Regions from separate parts of the Homo sapiens genome. Here regions 2, 3, 4 and 5 are each linked to region 1. The links are contacts of gene promoters, found by promoter capture Hi-C in blood cells and fetal thymus (Javierre and others, 2016). All regions are on one chromosome and are shown on one strand. Each heading gives the region's core, a stretch centred on a gene start or on the middle of the fragment in contact. The rest is flanking DNA. Distances are from core to core; before and after follow the strand shown. Region 1 holds the start of DCAF16 (DDB1 and CUL4 associated factor 16). Region 2 overlaps DHX15 (DEAH-box helicase 15). Region 3 holds the start of DHX15 (DEAH-box helicase 15). Region 4 overlaps DHX15 (DEAH-box helicase 15). Region 5 has its middle 42 kb from the start of HS3ST1.

Evidence for each region. Contacts are between HindIII fragments. The CHiCAGO score rates a contact against its expected background, and 5 or more counts as called.
Region 2: a contact is called between a fragment that was not itself captured here and the fragment with the promoter of DCAF16 in region 1, in 1 of 17 cell types (fetal thymus). The highest score is 5.4, in fetal thymus.
Region 3: a contact is called between the fragment with the promoter of DHX15 here and the fragment with the promoter of DCAF16 in region 1, in 1 of 17 cell types (fetal thymus). The highest score is 6.1, in fetal thymus.
Region 4: a contact is called between a fragment that was not itself captured here and the fragment with the promoter of DCAF16 in region 1, in 1 of 17 cell types (non-activated CD4 T cells). The highest score is 5.9, in non-activated CD4 T cells.
Region 5: a contact is called between a fragment that was not itself captured here and the fragment with the promoter of DCAF16 in region 1, in 1 of 17 cell types (non-activated CD4 T cells). The highest score is 5.0, in non-activated CD4 T cells.

Annotation. Positions count from the first base shown.
Region 1 is chr4:17,808,660-17,812,286 of GRCh38, reverse strand. It overlaps DCAF16 (DDB1 and CUL4 associated factor 16), which reads left to right and starts at 1,530. Exons shown (of 3, transcript NM_017741.4): 1 at 1,530-1,840. It overlaps NCAPG (non-SMC condensin I complex subunit G), which reads right to left and starts at 1,308. Exons shown (of 21, transcript NM_022346.5): 1 at 1,099-1,308; 2 at 1-66. The coding sequence starts at 1,209. RefSeq lists enhancers at 837-1,349, 1,623-1,782, 1,350-1,861, 1,903-1,992, 3,612-3,627. The HindIII fragment of the contact is 3,530 bases long and covers 272-3,627 here.
Region 2 is chr4:24,531,747-24,535,051 of GRCh38, reverse strand. It overlaps DHX15 (DEAH-box helicase 15), which reads left to right. Exons shown (of 14, transcript NM_001358.3): 12 at 1,998-2,188. Among named protein-coding and RNA genes, the nearest start is that of MIR573, 13 kb to the right of the region's middle. The HindIII fragment of the contact is 807 bases long and covers 1,358-2,164 here.
Region 3 is chr4:24,582,701-24,586,235 of GRCh38, reverse strand. DHX15 (DEAH-box helicase 15) reads left to right here and starts at 1,682. Exons shown (of 14, transcript NM_001358.3): 1 at 1,682-1,913. The coding sequence starts at 1,843. RefSeq lists an enhancer at 1,244-1,783 and silencers at 1,964-2,083, 2,094-2,173, 2,374-2,423. The HindIII fragment of the contact is 7,218 bases long and covers 1-3,535 here.
Region 4 is chr4:24,550,712-24,554,098 of GRCh38, reverse strand. All of the region lies in intron 5 of DHX15 (DEAH-box helicase 15), which reads left to right. Among named protein-coding and RNA genes, the nearest start is that of MIR573, 32 kb to the right of the region's middle. RefSeq lists an enhancer at 341-909. The HindIII fragment of the contact is 3,436 bases long and covers 183-3,387 here.
Region 5 is chr4:11,469,023-11,472,210 of GRCh38, reverse strand. No RefSeq gene overlaps it. Among named protein-coding and RNA genes, the nearest start is that of HS3ST1, 42 kb to the right of the region's middle. RefSeq lists an enhancer at 1,840-2,029. The HindIII fragment of the contact is 2,389 bases long and covers 266-2,654 here.

The sequences.
Region 1 (3,627 bases), core at 281-2,780:
ATAGACCACCATAACATATTTAAGGTAATGAATGAACTCCTCATGAAAAACTGTCTTATCATCCATCTGAAAGACAAAAGAAACCCTTCATAAACTGCACCGATAAAAATCCTTTATTCCCAACATCACCCTAAGACTGATGAAAGCACTAGCCATAATAATGCAGACAAATTAAAATATTTATTTAGTAAACTCTTAATTATCCAAACCAGCCAAAGGGCAATCAATTTGCATGAATTTCTCTCCAGGCTATAATGGGAGTACACAAGCTTGACTTTTGACAGTGAAAAGATTCCTTTGATATATTTTTTTCAATATCTTTGATTCTCAATAAGCCTTTAGTACCAGTACGTTACAAATACGCTTCTTCAACAACCCAAAATCAATACTGGCTTTTATATTTCTCATATTCAGGCCTTCCTATCACCAGCAGTTTCTTTATGAGATAACTTGCACATCCTATCTCATATCCTCAAAGCCCTGTGATGTTTACTCACAATTTTTCTTGGACCTCAAGATAATTCATCTTCCCCAAATTAATTGTTCTATTCTTCTCAAGGTTCCACTCAAAACAAACAAATAGTATGTACATAAATAAGAATGGCCAGGCCCTAAAAATAATTTGGTATTTGGTGATTGGATTCAACGTAACCGTAGGACAAGGGTAGAATCATTTGATGTTCGGCGGGGAGCGATGACCCCAGGGGCAACGACCACTGAACCCCCGCATTCAGGATCCACTCTGCGGTTCAATATTTGATGTCTGATCGCCTCGGTGGTCGTAAATGTTTCTCTCCACGTTCACGATCGGACTAAGGAATAACGGTCCACGCCGCCCAGAAGCTGGGGGTGTCGGCTCAGAAAAGCCAAGGCGGGGCCCGTGTGAACGACGCCCAGGCTTCGGAGGCTTTCTGGCCTGGGCCCAGGCGACCTCGGGTAAGTCCCTGACTTCTCCGAACCTCAGATCCCTATGAAGTGAGTCGCGAAGGTGAACAAGGCTGGAGTCACGGTGCGCCGAGCCCGAGGGCCACGGAGGGCCCCTGAGGGAGGGTGGGCCGGGGCGGGCGAGAGGCGGCGGCCGGGGCCGGGAGCGCTTACCGTGCGGTAGGTGCGGCTCAGCGCCACCACCAGCTTCGCCTGGTTCTGGTGCGGCTGCTGCGCCAGCCGAAAGGCCTCCTTAATCGACAGCAGCCTCCTTTCCGCTCCCATGGCTCTGGAACCCTGCCGGGACGAGTCCTGCCCGCGCTCGGCTACAGCCTGCCAGCCCGCCAACCCAGAGGCAGCGCTCTCCGAGTAGTCTTCTATGACAGCCCCAGGGAGTATTTACCGCTCGAACGTTCAAATAATTCCCGCGAGAGGGGGAAATCCCGCGAGACTGCCGTAAGCGCTTTGGGAGAAGAGAGCGGGAAGCGATGGGTCCACCCACCTCGCACCCCGCGCTTTGGGCGCATGCGTCTAGGTTCAACCTTGTCCAGCCGTTTTCACGGAGGGAAGTGGCGTTTCTAAGGGGGAGGGGCCTTGACTCGGCCGGAAGTAGCGTCGGCGCGGGAGCTGAGCGGAGTGGCCTTGCCACCGGAGGGGAAGGGCTGCTGGCGTTAGGCCTGGCTGGGTCGTGCGGCTGAGCGTGAGGCTAGAAAGAAAAAGCGATCCTCCAAGAGTGAGAACGGGAGATCTGCCGAGGATAACAACCTCCCTTGTGGCCGAAGGGCGGGGGATCCCCACACGAGGGCTCCGCTTCGAGAGACGGCGACAAAGGAAAGTTCGTAGCGCGTTCCGGAGGCCCGGCCACCTCTGAGAAGGGAGACGACGCTGCTGGGTCCGCTGAGCGGGGCGACCCGAGGTTAGTGGAGACGGATGCTGTCTTTTGAAGGCCTTAGTCCCTGCCCTGGTGAAGCCGACTGCGAGGTTCCACAGGGCGTGCAGGCAGTCCGGGGATCGTTGCGAAGGGGGGTGCGGGCTAACTTAGCTGCTGCCGTTTCTAGATGTGCAGCTGTGTAGGCCCTGTTTACAAGTGTGCATAAGGACAGTGTATTAAGGGAGAACTCAAGAGAATGGAAAGGTCTTTCGGGTAGTGGTTAAAATAAAGAAGAGTAGGAACTAGGTTTTTAAATTTTAAATGAAATTATATCAGACAGAACTTCTGTTGGATCTCAGGATGCACCATCCAAAAATAGGACTGTAGGAGACCAAAATATGCCACCCTACAATATACTTCTAGAGTATATTTTGAGCTGGTATTCTGATAAAATGCAGACACAGGAGTCGCTCTGAAAATCTGTCCTGTTGTAAAAGAAATTGACATCTACAGAGGAAATATACATCAGTAAAGGATCTGTATCAGAAAGAGGGCAGCTCTGCGATAATTTTTGTTACCTGGGAGATCTTATCTGCATACCAAGACAACTTTTATTCACCGTATATTTCCTCCCCTCACCTTTCCACAACTTTGTGGCCACCATCCCCCAGAAAGCCGCAAGCCCCCATTTCTTGAGTAGCGTAGGATGCTGTATAATATTCAATCATCTGACCATGGTGGGACTCCTCTGCGTATGTAATTAAGTACGGGTTTTTTTTCTTGTTAATGTCTATGTCAGGTTAATTTGTAACCCAGCCAAAGAACCTAGGAGGATGGAGGGAAGCCGTTTTTCCCTCTCCTACACCTCAGTAACCTACTGCCAGCTGAAGAAATAGAACATTACTAAAGCCACCTGTACATCTTTCTCCTTTTGAATTACCTGCCCTCCGAAGAAGTAATGGATTTTCTGAATTTACTGTTAACTTTTACCATGCAGCTTTCTATATCTTAATGACATATTTTAATATATTAATGACATGAATAAATCCCTGAATGAGGATATTGTACTATTTTGCATGTTTTAACCGTTAAATGAATAATTATATGTGCATCTGGCTTTTTTCAATCAATATTGCTGTGGTTCATATTGATATGTTCATAATAGTAACTTGCACTTAATTAACCTTTATTATGTGCCAGACACCATGCTAAGCACTTTACTTCGTTTACTGCTCACAAACCCTGTAGGATAACTTTGATCTTCTTTTAAGATGAGGAAACTACGGCACAGACAGGTTGCTATAGTACTCCATTGTATTAATATGCCATACCTTATCCATTCTCCTGCTTAATTCCTCAAACTTTGTAGATATTCAGCTGCTAGTTAAGAATGTGGTAACATTTGTGTTGCCCATAATTTTGCTTTGTGACGTTTCTAATATATATTTTTTTATTTTTATTTTGAGACAGAGTCTTGCTCTGTCGCCCAGGCTGGAGTGCAATGGCGCGATCTCGGCTCACTGCAACCTCTGCCTCCCGGGTTGAAGCGATTCTCCCGCCTCAGTCTCCCAAGTAGCTGGGTTACAGGCATGCACCACCACACCTGGCTAATCTTTTGTATTCTTAATAGAGACGGGGTTTCGCCATGTTGGCCAGGCTGGTCTCGAACTCCTGACCTCAGGTGATCCACCCGCCTTTGCCTCCCAAACTGTTGGGATTACAGGCGTGAGCCACCGCGCCCGGCTAGTATTTCTTTACTATATTCTATTTGGCTGTCTCACCAACAGAGACATCACACCATTTTGTCAGTTACAGAAGAATGAGACATCTGG
Region 2 (3,305 bases), core at 512-3,011, 6.7 Mb before region 1:
GGTAGAGCTGTCCTTATTAGTTAAAGGTGAGGATTTAGCCTTTAATCACTGATTGCCACCTTTTCAAATAAGAGAAGCTCTTAAAAAAAAAAAAAGCAAAAAACTTTGCCAGATCCCCACGTGTTATTATTTCGATATATCCATATATATATGGATATGAAAATATTTGGAATATTTTCACGAAAGCTTTTTAAATGGTTGTATGTTATTAATTGAAACATTGAGTATATTTGAAAAAAGCGTGTTTCAGATACTGGTCAAGATGTTTTGCATTAGAGACAATAGTTGATTACATAGTGAAGCTAAAATGTCATGTCAATTAAAATGTTGTCTTAATACTATTTATGTAAATAACCCTTTGAAATCGAAAACTAGATTCAAGTTATTTTGCAGTACCTTGATCTGTCTAGGGAGGGGAGATTTCTCTCTAAAAATCAGACAAATGGTTTGGCTTTAGATCTTAGGGGTGGTTTACTGTATTGGTGAGAGATAAACAGCTAGAATTATATTAATGTTTCCAGTTTTAGATTTAATTTTCCCATTTACCCAATTATTTCTCACAAGTTTAGAAATACAGTAGAACCATCAGATGTTAGTTACTAGTCATTTGTTCTTAACAAATAACTTAGATTTGCAATTTTTCCATCTGTAGTACATGAATTCTAAAAATTGAGAACCACACAAAAAAGCTACATTTCAAGCCATAGTCTGCAAATCAACAACCTTTTCAAAAATTTGCCTTTTTATTGTCCAGCTTGGGCATTTTTCTGCCTTTCAGCTTGTTACAGAGCATCAGCATAAGTAAAATTACCTCTAAGGTGTGCTGTTTCAGCTCCCAAAGATATTCAGTGCTTTGATTTAAATGTCAATGGCTTCAGATGGTTAACTTTTATTTCTCATTCCAGATGGATTAATTAATGGGTGTTCTAATATGTTATTGTATTCTTTAATTCAAAAATCTATTTCCTATCTCCACCTCACCCATCCTTAATTTCTGAAATGGGGATGCATTTTGTAATGGATAAAAATGTACTTATATATTTGTTATGTCTAAAAAACATTAAGGCAGAGTTATACACTATAACTGGTAGAATCCTAGAACCAAAGAGAAAAGAGTATGCTGAAGATAAGCATACATCACAGTAGCAAGAGAAGGATCAACAGTTTTAATTTTTGTTTTCTCTCTCCCATTTCACAATAACCCTGTTAGTTTTATTTATCAAAGGTCCTCTGAAATAAATAATGCAATTCTTTGCCATGACTGTCTTTGGCACATGAAAGATGTCACTGTAAAATTTCTTTCATGATGCTACAGGTTGAGCTCTTTAAGTGAGCAACACTAGGCTAGTTGGAAGCTTATCAAGGATTCATCAGTGGAGAAATATCCTTTTGATAATACATGTAATAAAATTACTTGAAGTGCTTAGACTTAGGTCTTGTTTATTAAACATGAGTGGAGGTTTCGGGCATCCTTGTAAACTTTCTTCTGTTTCAGGACTTGCTCATAAATTGCTGAGAGACACGTGTGTCGCAATAAAACTTTGCCGTCTTTAAGTCTGAGGTGCTCTGTGTCAGGCATAAAGAACAATACACAACAATTGTTTGCAGTTATCTTAATCTAAAGCTGTAGTTTCATTGAAAATGAACAGGCCATGACTTTTACCAAATACTTCCAGCCTTCCCTTATCTGATAGACCATCTTTTGGAAACAACCAGGTGGATGTTAATGGGAGAAGTAATTCACTAAAAACAGTTAATTCAAAAGCATTGTTTTGGCATCCAAATCCAAAAGCCTTGTTACTGTTTCTAATGTTGAATCACACTACAGATCTTTGAGAAAGTTGGTAACATTGCAGTTCATTTAAAGAAAATGTTGTGGGTAAATCTCCTTTCTGGTTTATTTAGCTTATTCTTTATAACAATTTTTTTAATTAGAGAACATTCCTGTGTGGGTGATTCATGGTGCCTTCTTTTCTCCCCGCCTTCTACCTTTTTAGATCATGAATCGGTTCAGTGGTGTTATGACAACTTCATTAACTACAGGTCCCTGATGTCCGCAGACAATGTACGCCAGCAGCTATCTCGAATTATGGACAGATTTAATTTGCCTCGTCGAAGTACTGACTTTACAAGCAGGGACTATTATATTAATATAAGAAAAGCTTTGGTTACTGGGTATTTTATGCAGGTATGTAGATAATATGGGAATGAATAACTAAGTATTCATATGACACTGATTTCTATTAACAGTCCTTTGAATCCACTCAAAAGCAAAAGTGAGTTTGTGCATGCTCATAAAAATTTATCTTAAATGTTGGTACATCCAGTTTCTTTGAGTGAATTAATATACTAAGAAATTTTAAGTATTTAATGAGTAACAAATTAATGTACTAAATGGCTAAGGTAGTCTAGTTATACAGGAATCGTTTTTAGAATTATTTTATTAATAGAGCCTTTGTTATACAAAATGGAAACTTTGGCTACTTTCAGATGTGATTAGGCACCTGTTTCTTCAGGAATGTGAATATTGATCAGTGCATTAAAGTTTCTCTGAATCTAGGGCTTAATTGGAAATACATTGTCATAACAGAGTACTAAAAGGAAGCAATTGAGCGGATCCAAAAGTACATACAGTTGGCTTTAGTCTTTATCTAAAAACTAAGCACCTCCAAATTCAAATATTCAAATACGTGGATTTCATTTACAGTCCTCTACAGAGTGATCATTGGTAATTATGACCAAGACCCTTGCGTACTGCAAAAGCCAAAAACGTCTGTTGAGTAGCAATAAAGATGAAACATAATTTAAAAGGTTTTATTTAGTTTAAGTATGCTGTGTTAACGGCTATAAGAACAGAAGTAAAACTTGTCAAGTAAATACTGTGAACAGTTATTTTAAGGTGTTTATAAAATAAGAGAAACTTTGAGAAAAATGCAAGAAAATTTTGTGGTGATAAAATTGAAAACAAATCACCTGATTTGGGATAAGTCTCTTCTATCTCTTTTCTGTTTGTTCATTCTCTCTTTGGCTGTGTCTTTTAAGCACGATGTGGCTTACCCTTAAGGCCAGATGGGCTCAGTAGCTAGAATATGAGCCTGAGGACACTCAGTTTCAGAATCAAAAATCAAAGGAGATTGGTGAGATGTCTGTATTTGAATCTAAGTAACACAGTGTTTATTGTGGCATCTTATTATATAATAGGCTTATTAGAGTTTGGTGAATGATAGGTATGAGCATTCTTTCTTGAAACTCTTAACTATATTCTTAATATTTGATATGTTGTACTGGCTTCTCTTTGACATGTT
Region 3 (3,535 bases), core at 433-2,932, 6.8 Mb before region 1:
TTTTCTTTGTGTTGACTTTCCAATGTGGATTTGGTACAAAAAAATAAAAACCCTCCTTACCAATTGCTGGCTGGGTGCAGTGGCTCACGCCTGTAATCCCAGCACTTTGGGAGGCCGAGGTGGGCAGATCACTTGAGGTCCGGAGTTCAAGACCAGCCTGGCCAGCATGGCGACACCTCGTCTCTACGTCTCTACTAAAAATACCAAAATTAGCCGGGCGCGTAGCCGGGCGTGGTGGCGGGCGCTTATAATCCCAGCTAGGAGGGAGGCTGAGGCAGGAGAATGGCTTAAACCCGGGAGGCGGAGGTTGCAGTGAGCTGAGATTGCACCACTGTCCTCCAGCCTGGGCGACAGAGCAAGACTGTCTCAAAACAAACACACAAACCCCTCATCAGTTGCAATATTTAAGTTGCATTTAATCCTAGCAATTGCAGTCCTGAGATTTGGATAAGAACCAGAGTATGGTCTTCCAGGGCAGCCAAACCAAGCCATTCCATGAACAACAGAGATCACCCTGCTGCAGATGGTCCACAGATCTTTTCTTGTGCATTTCTTCTGGGAACAAATGCAACTGAGGAAGCAGACATATTCTAGGGGGAGAGATCCACAAAAATCCTTAGAGTCATCTTGCCCCACCTCCTTGTTATGGCTTTAGGTACAGCCCTTATGGCTAGGAGATGTAACCTTCCTCAGCCTTTGCGTCTACGTCTACAAAATAACAACTACCTTGCAGGGTGTTATTTAACACTGCGAAAGTGCATTAATAGGCACAGAAAAACAAAAAACAAAAAAGCAAATTGTGCCCTCACTGCGAATTCTCTGTATTCTAGTTAAAAACATCTATAGCTTGGGTGCATGGTGTCCGTGCTGGGCAAGAAAAGGGCAAAATAGATCATGACAAGCCTTAACATTTTCTCACTTCAGTTTCCTCACTGCAATTGATTTTTTTTTTTCTTTCAAGTCGGAGTCTTGTTCTGTCGTCCAGGCTGGAGTGCACTGGTGTGATCTCGTCTCACCGCAACCTCCGCCTCCCAGGTTCAAGCGATTCTCCTGCCTCAGCCTACCGAGTAGCTGGGATTACAGGCGTACGCCACCACGCCCAGCTAATTTTTGTATTTTTAGTAGAGACGGGGTTTCACCGTGTTGGCCAGGCTGGTCTCGAACTCCTGACCTCGTGATCCACCCGCCTCGGTCTCCCAAAGCGTTGGGATTACAGGCGTGAACCATCGCGCGGCCCCTCACTGCAACTGAGGGTAGCGCAGTGGCCGCAAGTTCCAGATCTGGAGTTACTAAATAGCTGGGTTCCAATCCCGGCTCTGCCACTTATTAGCTGTACGATCTTCATTCGTTTCTCAACCTCTCTGGGTCTGAGATTCCCTTAAAGCCGGGGTAATAGAAATGAATAGGATTTCCTAACTAGGACTAGACTTTCTCAATTTCTTGACTCAGAGGGGCAAGGATAGCCTGAAATGGAAAGTGAAGGCCTTCAGGTTCTTCCTAACAGCCGCTCCGAGGAGGGGAAAGCTACAGGAAGAGGGAGGAGACCCAAGAAAGGTCGGACCAATGAGGCAGCGGGCGGGACAGGAGTTCCCGCCTTTGGGCGTCGTGCGCGCGCACCTCGCTCACACGCACACTCGCACGCACGCACGCTGCGGAAGCGCGCGCGCGCGCAGGCCCAGCCCTCGTCGCCGCCGCCATTTTAGCTGTTGGTTCCGGCCGCACCGTGTGGGCTGTAGTAGCGGGAGGGGTGGGGGTCCTCCAGAGTTAAGTGGCTGTCCTCGACTGTGCCCATACAGCAGCCAGCTTTCTTCCTTAATAACTGCCCGTTCGAAGAGTGCGAGGATGTCCAAGCGGCACCGGTTGGACCTAGGGGAGGATTACCCCTCTGGCAAGAAGCGTGCGGGGACCGATGGGTAAGCCAGGCCGGGGGCGCGAGGCGGCAGCTCGGGCTTTGTTGGGGTCCTGGCAGGGAGCGGGCCGGGGCTGGCCTGGCCGAGCGGGTCCTGGAGCCCGAGCCTTTGTTTCTCTCTGGGCTGGGTTCACTAGCGGCGGGTAGGAGAAGCGCGGCGCCCGTTCGGCCCGGCAAGGGCGCGGGGGGTTGCGTGCGACGGGGCCGCTGCCCAGCCCAGTCCGGAGGGTGGAGAGGCCTGCAGTAGCCATGAGGGCGCCTCCTCCCCCAGGCCGAACCGAGCGGGAGTCATTTGCGAGGGCGTCGGGCGGGAGTGAACCGCGGACCTCGTGGCCTCGGTTCCCGAGGAAGGCCTGGAGCCGGAGGAGAGGGTGGGGGAGGGCGCGGTGGGAGTATTCGCTTCCAAGGGCAGCAGGCACTTCCCAGCCAGAGGGGCCGTGGGGAGGGCCTGGGTGGGGGCGCGGCCAGGCACTCCAGACGGGAAAGGCGGAGGGCGGAAAGTGAGAGCAGCGCGTGGATCATAATGTAGGCTGGGATGGGGGTGGCGGGAGTTGAGAGAAGCCAGCAAATAGGGAGTTCTCGGGGGAGGTGGGAGTAGAGGACCTGCCGGGAGAAAGGAAAACGTGGAGTAATATACCTGATGGGCTGGAAGGCTGGTGTTTTGGGGCGACTGAGTTTATAGTTTGGCGGGAGAGAGCGTGCCTTGGTCCATTCAAACACTTCAAAGTAGATACTAGCAAACTTCCGCTCTCTGCCTACGCTCCCGCCATCTCCTGTATTTCCTGCTTTGGTTAAAACTGGTTACTGAACATCGTCCCATGGGGAGGGATTAGAAGGCATTGTTTTTTTTTTTCATCATTTATTTTCTATGCATGTCCCACTTTTCTTCATAAGTAGCTTTTGAAATACAGGGATCATGTTCAAAACGTGTTTTTAGTATTTATGGCGAAACACCGCCCATGTGGAGGTTGAGAGTTGAAATACTTACACAAACTCTTGGTGTTCCAGATTCCTTTCCTTAAAGGTACAGAGGAATTTAGCAGTTAATTTAAGCAATTTCGTGAAAATCATTTCTTGTCCCTTGTGTGTTTTCATTGATGAAGTACAAAGACCTGTTTGGATAATTCAGGCAAAACCCACAAAAGCCCGAGTAGCCAAATACTTTGCATAATTGTATCATTTTATTGTGTACTTGTGATACAGAATCACTGTGTCAAGTCACCTGTATAGCTGTTTTGAATTTTTCAGCTAAAGTTCTTCATTGAAATTGATTTCCAGGGATATGTTTAGTGTCATTGTAGAGTATAAGCCAGGATAGGGTGTACTTTTTGAGGCTTTGCCATATGTTGAATTATTCAATAGAAAGCAAAAGCATGTCACATTTTAATTTTGTGAGTTATTTAGTTTACGATATTAGGCATTGTAAAAAAGACAATGACATTGTAAGACAGACTCTCTTTAGGCTATCACCCTCCCCCACCATTACGCCCCACAAAACGTTAATACCTCTGAGCTGTATGTCACAGACTCAGAGCTGGAAGCAACTTAAAAAAGACTATACGCGGCTCCAATCAAGGAATGAGAAGTGGAGAACAGAGTTAAGGTGGCTTGTGCAAGTTTACAGCA
Region 4 (3,387 bases), core at 651-3,150, 6.7 Mb before region 1:
CTACAGGTGCCCGCCACCACACCCGGCTAATTTTTTGTATTTTTAGTAGAGACAGGGTTTCACCGTTTTAGCCAGGATGGTCTCAATCTCCTGACCTCGTGATCCACTCTCCTCGGCCTCCCAAAGTGCTGGGATTACAGGCGTGAGCCATCGCACCCGGCCAGATGTAGCGTTTCTAAGCTTCTTTTCAATAGGGTGTTTATAGGTGTGCTGTGGAATACCTGAGTGGCTAAATAAATTCAGAAGCTATTTGGATAATACAAAGTTTTAAAAAGCCTTTTACGAAAGGGTTTTTCTTTTTCTTTTTGGGGGTGGGGAGGGAAGACAGAGTCGCGCTCTGTCAACCAGGCTGGAGCGCAGTGGCATGATTATCGGCTCACTGCAACCTCTGCCTCCCGGGTTCAAGCGATTCTCTTGCCTCAGCCTCCCAAGTAGCTGGGATCACAGGTGCCCACCATCACACCTGGCTAATTTTTTTTTAATTTTTAGTAGAGACGGGGTTTCACTATGTTGGCCAGGCTAGTCTCGAACTCCTGACCTCAGGTGATCTGCCCTTCTCGGGTTCCCAAAGTGCTGGGATTATAGGCGCGAGCCACCACACCTGGCCCCAAAATGCTTTTTTGATGGCATATAAACAGCATTTGTGCTGTAATGTAGTATTGAGGCTGTTGGGATAATCGTTTTGTCCTCTTGTGTCTGGTCTCTAGTTTCTCATTTCCTCCAAAGTGCATAGTATATTTTTATTTTTATTTATTTTGTTTTATTATTTATTTATTTGAGATGGAGTTTTGCTCTTGTTGCCCAGGCTGGAGTGCAGTGGCGCGATCTCGGCTCACCGCAACCTCTGCCTCCCAGGTTCAGGTGATTCTCCTGCCTCAGCCTTCCGAGTAGCTGGGATTACAGGCATGCGCCACCATGCCCAACTAATTGGTATTTTTGGTAGAGATGGGGTTTCTCCGTGTTGGTCAGGCTGGTCTTGAACTCCCAACTTCAGGTGATCCACCCGCCTCGGCCTCCCAAAGTGCTGGGATTACAGGCGTGAGCCACTGCACCTGGCCATATTTTTATTTTTTAAATCACTATTTAAAATTGTCATCATTCTCAGATAACATAAGCGTATTGAGATTCTATCAGAAATATCAAATGGCCTCATGGTTAAGGACCCGAAAGGTTTTTCTCTGAGACAACTTTGTGCGGTATTTTCTGTGAATCCCACAGCTGGGGAAAGGAAGGGAGTAAGCCGAAGGGTTTTCAGATGTATGCTAGAGTGTCTTTCATGAAATAAAATGCTGCTCTAGTTGTCAGCTGTTTTTTTGCATACCATTGCTTCTTTAAGTTATCTTTAGATTCCCAGTCTTGAATTTGAAGAGTTTTGGGGAGAAGGTAGCAGAAAACCTAACGTTTTGTTTACATTTCATTTGTTGTATTTAGTAGTAGAGCTGGTCTAAAGTAAATATTACCTTCTCATTTTTGTGAACCTTCATTATTTTTACTTGGTAAGTTAAATGCAACTGCGAAATCAGTACTCCTTTCTTCATAAATTTGAATAGCCTCCATGAAATTGAGTAATCTCATAAAAATTTAAAACTGGTTTTTAAGAACATATTCTGACCACTAAATAAAAGTGCTTCTGTAGTCACATGAGTTAATTTGGGAGGGAGAGAGAACAGTTTAAAGTGTTGCCTAGATAGTAATTAGATAAGAGTGATTGTAATTAAATAATTTTATTTTTAATTTTGCTTAGTAAATTTTTTTTTCAACATGCAGTGAGTTAATTGGTAAGGTCCAGATTAATTTACTAACATATTGCTGCTTTTGGAGTTAAAAATCTTTTCTCAAATCAAAAACTCCTGAACTGTCTGTCTTTATTCTCAGTATTGCTAATGACTAAGCAGATGGCTGCTGTTGAAACTTCTTTTCCTCCACTACCTGTTTCTGTTTATATTCTGATGAATGCAGATAAGTTTTGTGGCATTCTCAGCTGATAGTGTTGACTTCTTGGAAGTTTGGCAAACCTCAGGGAAAATTTTTATTGCAAGTTTTAAAGCTGTTTAGGACTTTATCTAAAAACTTAAGTGTTACGGGATTTCTTCCACATTTTAGAGATGCCTTTATATCCTACATAGTCATCATTTTGTTTTAGCTCCTTGCATACTTAGCAGATTGGGTAGTCTAATCTCCAGTAAAGTTGGAATTGTCATTTTAAAATACTGGAATCACAAAGCAAATGTCTAATTTAAGCACTTAATTTTTAATGTGTGAAATCTGGATATTTTGTGATTTCTGAGCATTTATTTTTCATTTATGTACAGTAAAATTAACAAAATTGCAGATACTCTTAAATGTTGGAATCCTAGTTTTATATTATGTTCAAATGTTTTTTAAGTTGGAGAGCTCTTAATTTTTTATTTGCATGCCAGCAGGGGGCATTCTAATCTAGATACAACATTTGAAAGCAGTATTTTCAAAAAATATTTGTTCGCTTTGTTATATTTTTTATTTAGATGAATAGCATCTACTTTCATTTTCTTTTAGAAACTTGAGATTTCAAAGGAGGATCTAGTAACATTGAATCTTTAATAGTTTTCTGTGTCACAATTTTTGAGACAGATAACCTTTAAAAAAAACTGATGTGTTTGAAATAAGTGAAAAGTAATTTATTTGTTCTTACTGTGTTTAAGAACGTTGTGTTTTTTGATATAGAGACACAGTTGGACATTAAAAAAATATAAAGTAAATGTCCTAAAATTCTTCCTCACCGTTTAGTATCATTGTCCTTTGAAAAAAACACGCACTTTGTTGACAAGGGTAGCTTCTGATTGGGTCATTTATTGGACAGGCTGCCTAGTGTATAATAAGCGTTTTACATACTTCTGGGTTTAATTGAATTAATACTTCAATAAAATTTAGAATACATTTGTCCGCAGTGCTGCCTTCCATTTTTAAGTTCCTTTGCCTCTCCCAGAGCTATCATACATAATCTGTCTCTCTCTTTTTTTCCGTCTTGATATTCATTATGTCTCCTCTTGAATGCACATGTGTTAGAATATAGTCATGTGCCACATAACAACGTTTTGGTCAAGACAAACTTCTCAGATAGCTGTGGTGCTGCTCCCGTAAGATTATAGTGGAGCTGAACGTAACCTTGCAGCATCACAGCACAACACATTACTCACTGCTTTGTGATGATGCTAGTTCAAACAAACCTACTTTGCTGCCAGTTGTTTTAAAAGTACTATATAGTATGTACAATTATGTCCAGTACATAATAATAATGATAATAGGACATTGTTAGTGGTTTTTGTATTTACTATACTACATGTTTTATCATTATTTTAGAGTGTTCTCCTTCGACTTAAAAATGTTAACTGTAAAACAGGCTTAGGC
Region 5 (3,188 bases), core at 211-2,710, 6.3 Mb after region 1:
GTGTGCATTACTATATTTAACAATATTTGAAAGAGAGAATAGGAAAAAATAGAGGATAAAAAAGCAAATGTGGCAAAATGTTAAAACATGGCGAATCTGAAAAAAAGCATATACAGAAGTTCTCTAGAGGCTGTTTTTTTCCAGCAATTCAATGAGCTTTAGGAGTTTAAACAAATTGAAGTTTCTATTAATAGCTAGCAATTACTGTGTGCCCATGCTTTGCTATGGATTGTCCTAGGCAGATCACTGGCATTCTTTCTAAGCTTTTTCGTAGCTGTAGGTGTGGAAATTGTGTTTTCATTTTCATTTTGAGATATGAGGAAACTGAAACAGGATATGCACCCCACAGGAAGTGGCAGGGTCATAGATTTGAATTCAGACCTGGCTCACGTCTCCGCACAATAGAATGAGACAGTGCATGTGATGCCAGACAGGAAGAGGTAAGGTTCCAGCCTTTAGGGGCTCGTAGGGGCTCACAGCCCATAGGGAGAGTAGAGAGGGAAGACAGACAAGTAATTGGGTACATAGTGTGGTGTGGTAAGCAAAGTTAAATATAGTTAATTCTTTTTTTTTTTTTTTTTTTGAGATAGAGTCTCACTCTGTCACCCAGGCTGGAGTGCAGTGGCGCGATCTCGGCTCACTGCAACTTCCACCTTCTGGATTCAAGCAATTCTCCTGCCTCAGCCTCCCACATAGCTGGGACTATAGGTGTGTGCCACCCGCCTGGCTAATTTTTGTATTTTTGGTAGAGATGGGGTTTCACCATGTTGGCCAGGCTGGTCTTGAACTCCTGACCTCAAGTGATCCCCGTGCCTCGGGCTCCACAGTTAAATTCTTCTAAACTTAATTAGTAGAACACCTACTGGAGGTTGTTGTCATGCCAATCTCTTCTGCTACTAGAGACACATGTCCTGTCCTCCCAGAACTTACACTGAAGTGGATGTGACTGATGCTACAGTACATAACTGCTGAGGTAGCACATAATAGTGAAATTTTATCCAGACTACGAGGCTAAGGTTGGCTTCCCAGAGGGGATGTGAGTGTTGCCTTACTTGATTTTCAGAGACAGAATAGCCTGTGAAATTTCATTCATCCCTGAGTTCTAAAGACTTGGCATACAGGAAATTCACTAGCTGTTGAATCTGGAAAAATGATATACATGTTTTCTCTACTGTGCAGAGTCTATACTATTCTTGAATGAATGAATGAGTGAATGAGTTCCCTTCTGTGATTCCTAAGGAACCCAGGGCAATGAGGTCTTCCAGGATGTCAGCCTCTCTGTCATCCTTCCAGGTCACAAGAAAGAGCCAGCAGGTTTCAGCAAGCCGTTCCCTGGCTGATCTGGTGGTGAGAAGAATTTGGGGGTGGCGGCATGGTGACTAGCCACAGCCAGGGCAATTCCTGCACTCCCTGGCTTCCGTGTCTAGCTTTCAGGTTAGAGGAAATGCTTTATCAAGAAAAGCTACTTTGTTCTCTCTTGTTCTCTTTTATTTTTTTCCGAGTTACTCATCACTTTTTCAGTCCCTTATTCTCAGAGGAGAAAACAAAGCCACCTTCTTGAAGCTGTACCTTAGGTATTATTCTTGCCAATGCCTTGCAAAGCCAGCAGCCCAAGTGCTTTGCAGGTCAGATACAAGGGCCCTTTACCTTCAAAGATTAAAATCAGCATAGCAACAAAACATGAGGCTCTTGGTTTTACTCAGTGCTTTTCTTACATGGTCTCATTGCATTCACAGAGCAGTGTTACAGAAGGTTAGAGACCCTTGGAGATAAAACATGTAGGGATTTCCACTCTTTTTGGTGATGCCCCAAGAACCTGGGAAGGAGTGTCAGAGTCTGCCCTCTGGGGATGGGGGCTCCCTCCAGGGGCGGGAAGCCCATCTGGCTCATCTCTCTGCCCTTGGCTCAGCTGACCATGCAACTGCAGCTGCTTGCTTGGGCTTGTTTCATGCATGACAGTTTCAGTTACCTTTCACTTGAGAAATAGATCTCCCTGCTAAAAGAAAAAAAAAAAAAGAAAGAAAGAAAATGTTTGAAGACTACTGATCAGTTTCAATACCTTCATACTGTCCATAAAAACACACAGGCCCGTGTTGCACTGGCCGTCCCTTCGCATCTCACTCTCAGCGCCTCAGTGAGCTTTCTCAGCTGTGCTACGACAATGAGCATTTGCAGACCTCTTTTCCATCTTTCAAATTGTTGGCATCTCTCAACTATTCACATTGGTGGATTAATATGTTAAATACCTTTCATTGTTATTCTAGTGGAGTTTAAGGAGGAAGCAGCAATAGAATATGTATATGTATATACATATACATATACATATACATATACATACATATACACGCACACAGAAAGAGACAGAGAGGAGGGTTTTACCTTAGTCAGGGACTCCTCTCATTGCCTGAAATATTCTTCAGAGACTTGGAGCTCCAAGGTCTTGAGGAAGGCACCACAGTGAGTGGTGGAGTCGAAAACTGGAGGATTTGGTTGAATATTTCTATCAGTAGCACCTGGACTCTTTCCTTTCCCCTGCCAACCAAACATCCAAGCACCTGTCCTTTCTACTATGTCAAGAAAAGGGATTTTGTTTTGTGGAGACTTGAAACAGGAATTCTCTACCCTACTTAGAAAGAATAAGATTAAGTAAAGCTTCAATATCCCAAGGGAAATAAAGAAGCTATTGAAAATAAAAAAATAGAACAAAATACCATTAAAAGCATAATTAGAGAAGAGCATTAACACTTCTCTCCTTAAGGAAACATTGTTAACTGTTTTATAATTTGTATACCTTTTTTCCCAACAAAAAGTGTGCAATTGTTGTTAATAATAAAAGACTTTTGGTCATGATAATTAAAAAACAAAAAAGTAAAACAAACAAAAAAACCACAGGCCCAGAAAGGGACAATCACTTGCCTAAAATCACAGATCCACTTAGTACTTAAAGGCAAAGAAGGAACTAAGTGTTAGTCTTGGGTATCACATCAGTTTCTACTCCAGGACATGCAATTGCGGTACCTGGCTCAGGTGACCACAGTGAATGTAAATACCCAATGATTGGCCCAAGAGGAAAGGAAAACAATTTAAAAAATTCCTGACAGCTGCATTTCTGGAATGTCCCCACTCCTTCCTCATGCACCTGTTGCTGCCTGAACTTCTGACACTGAGTGGTTACCGGAGGCCTGGCG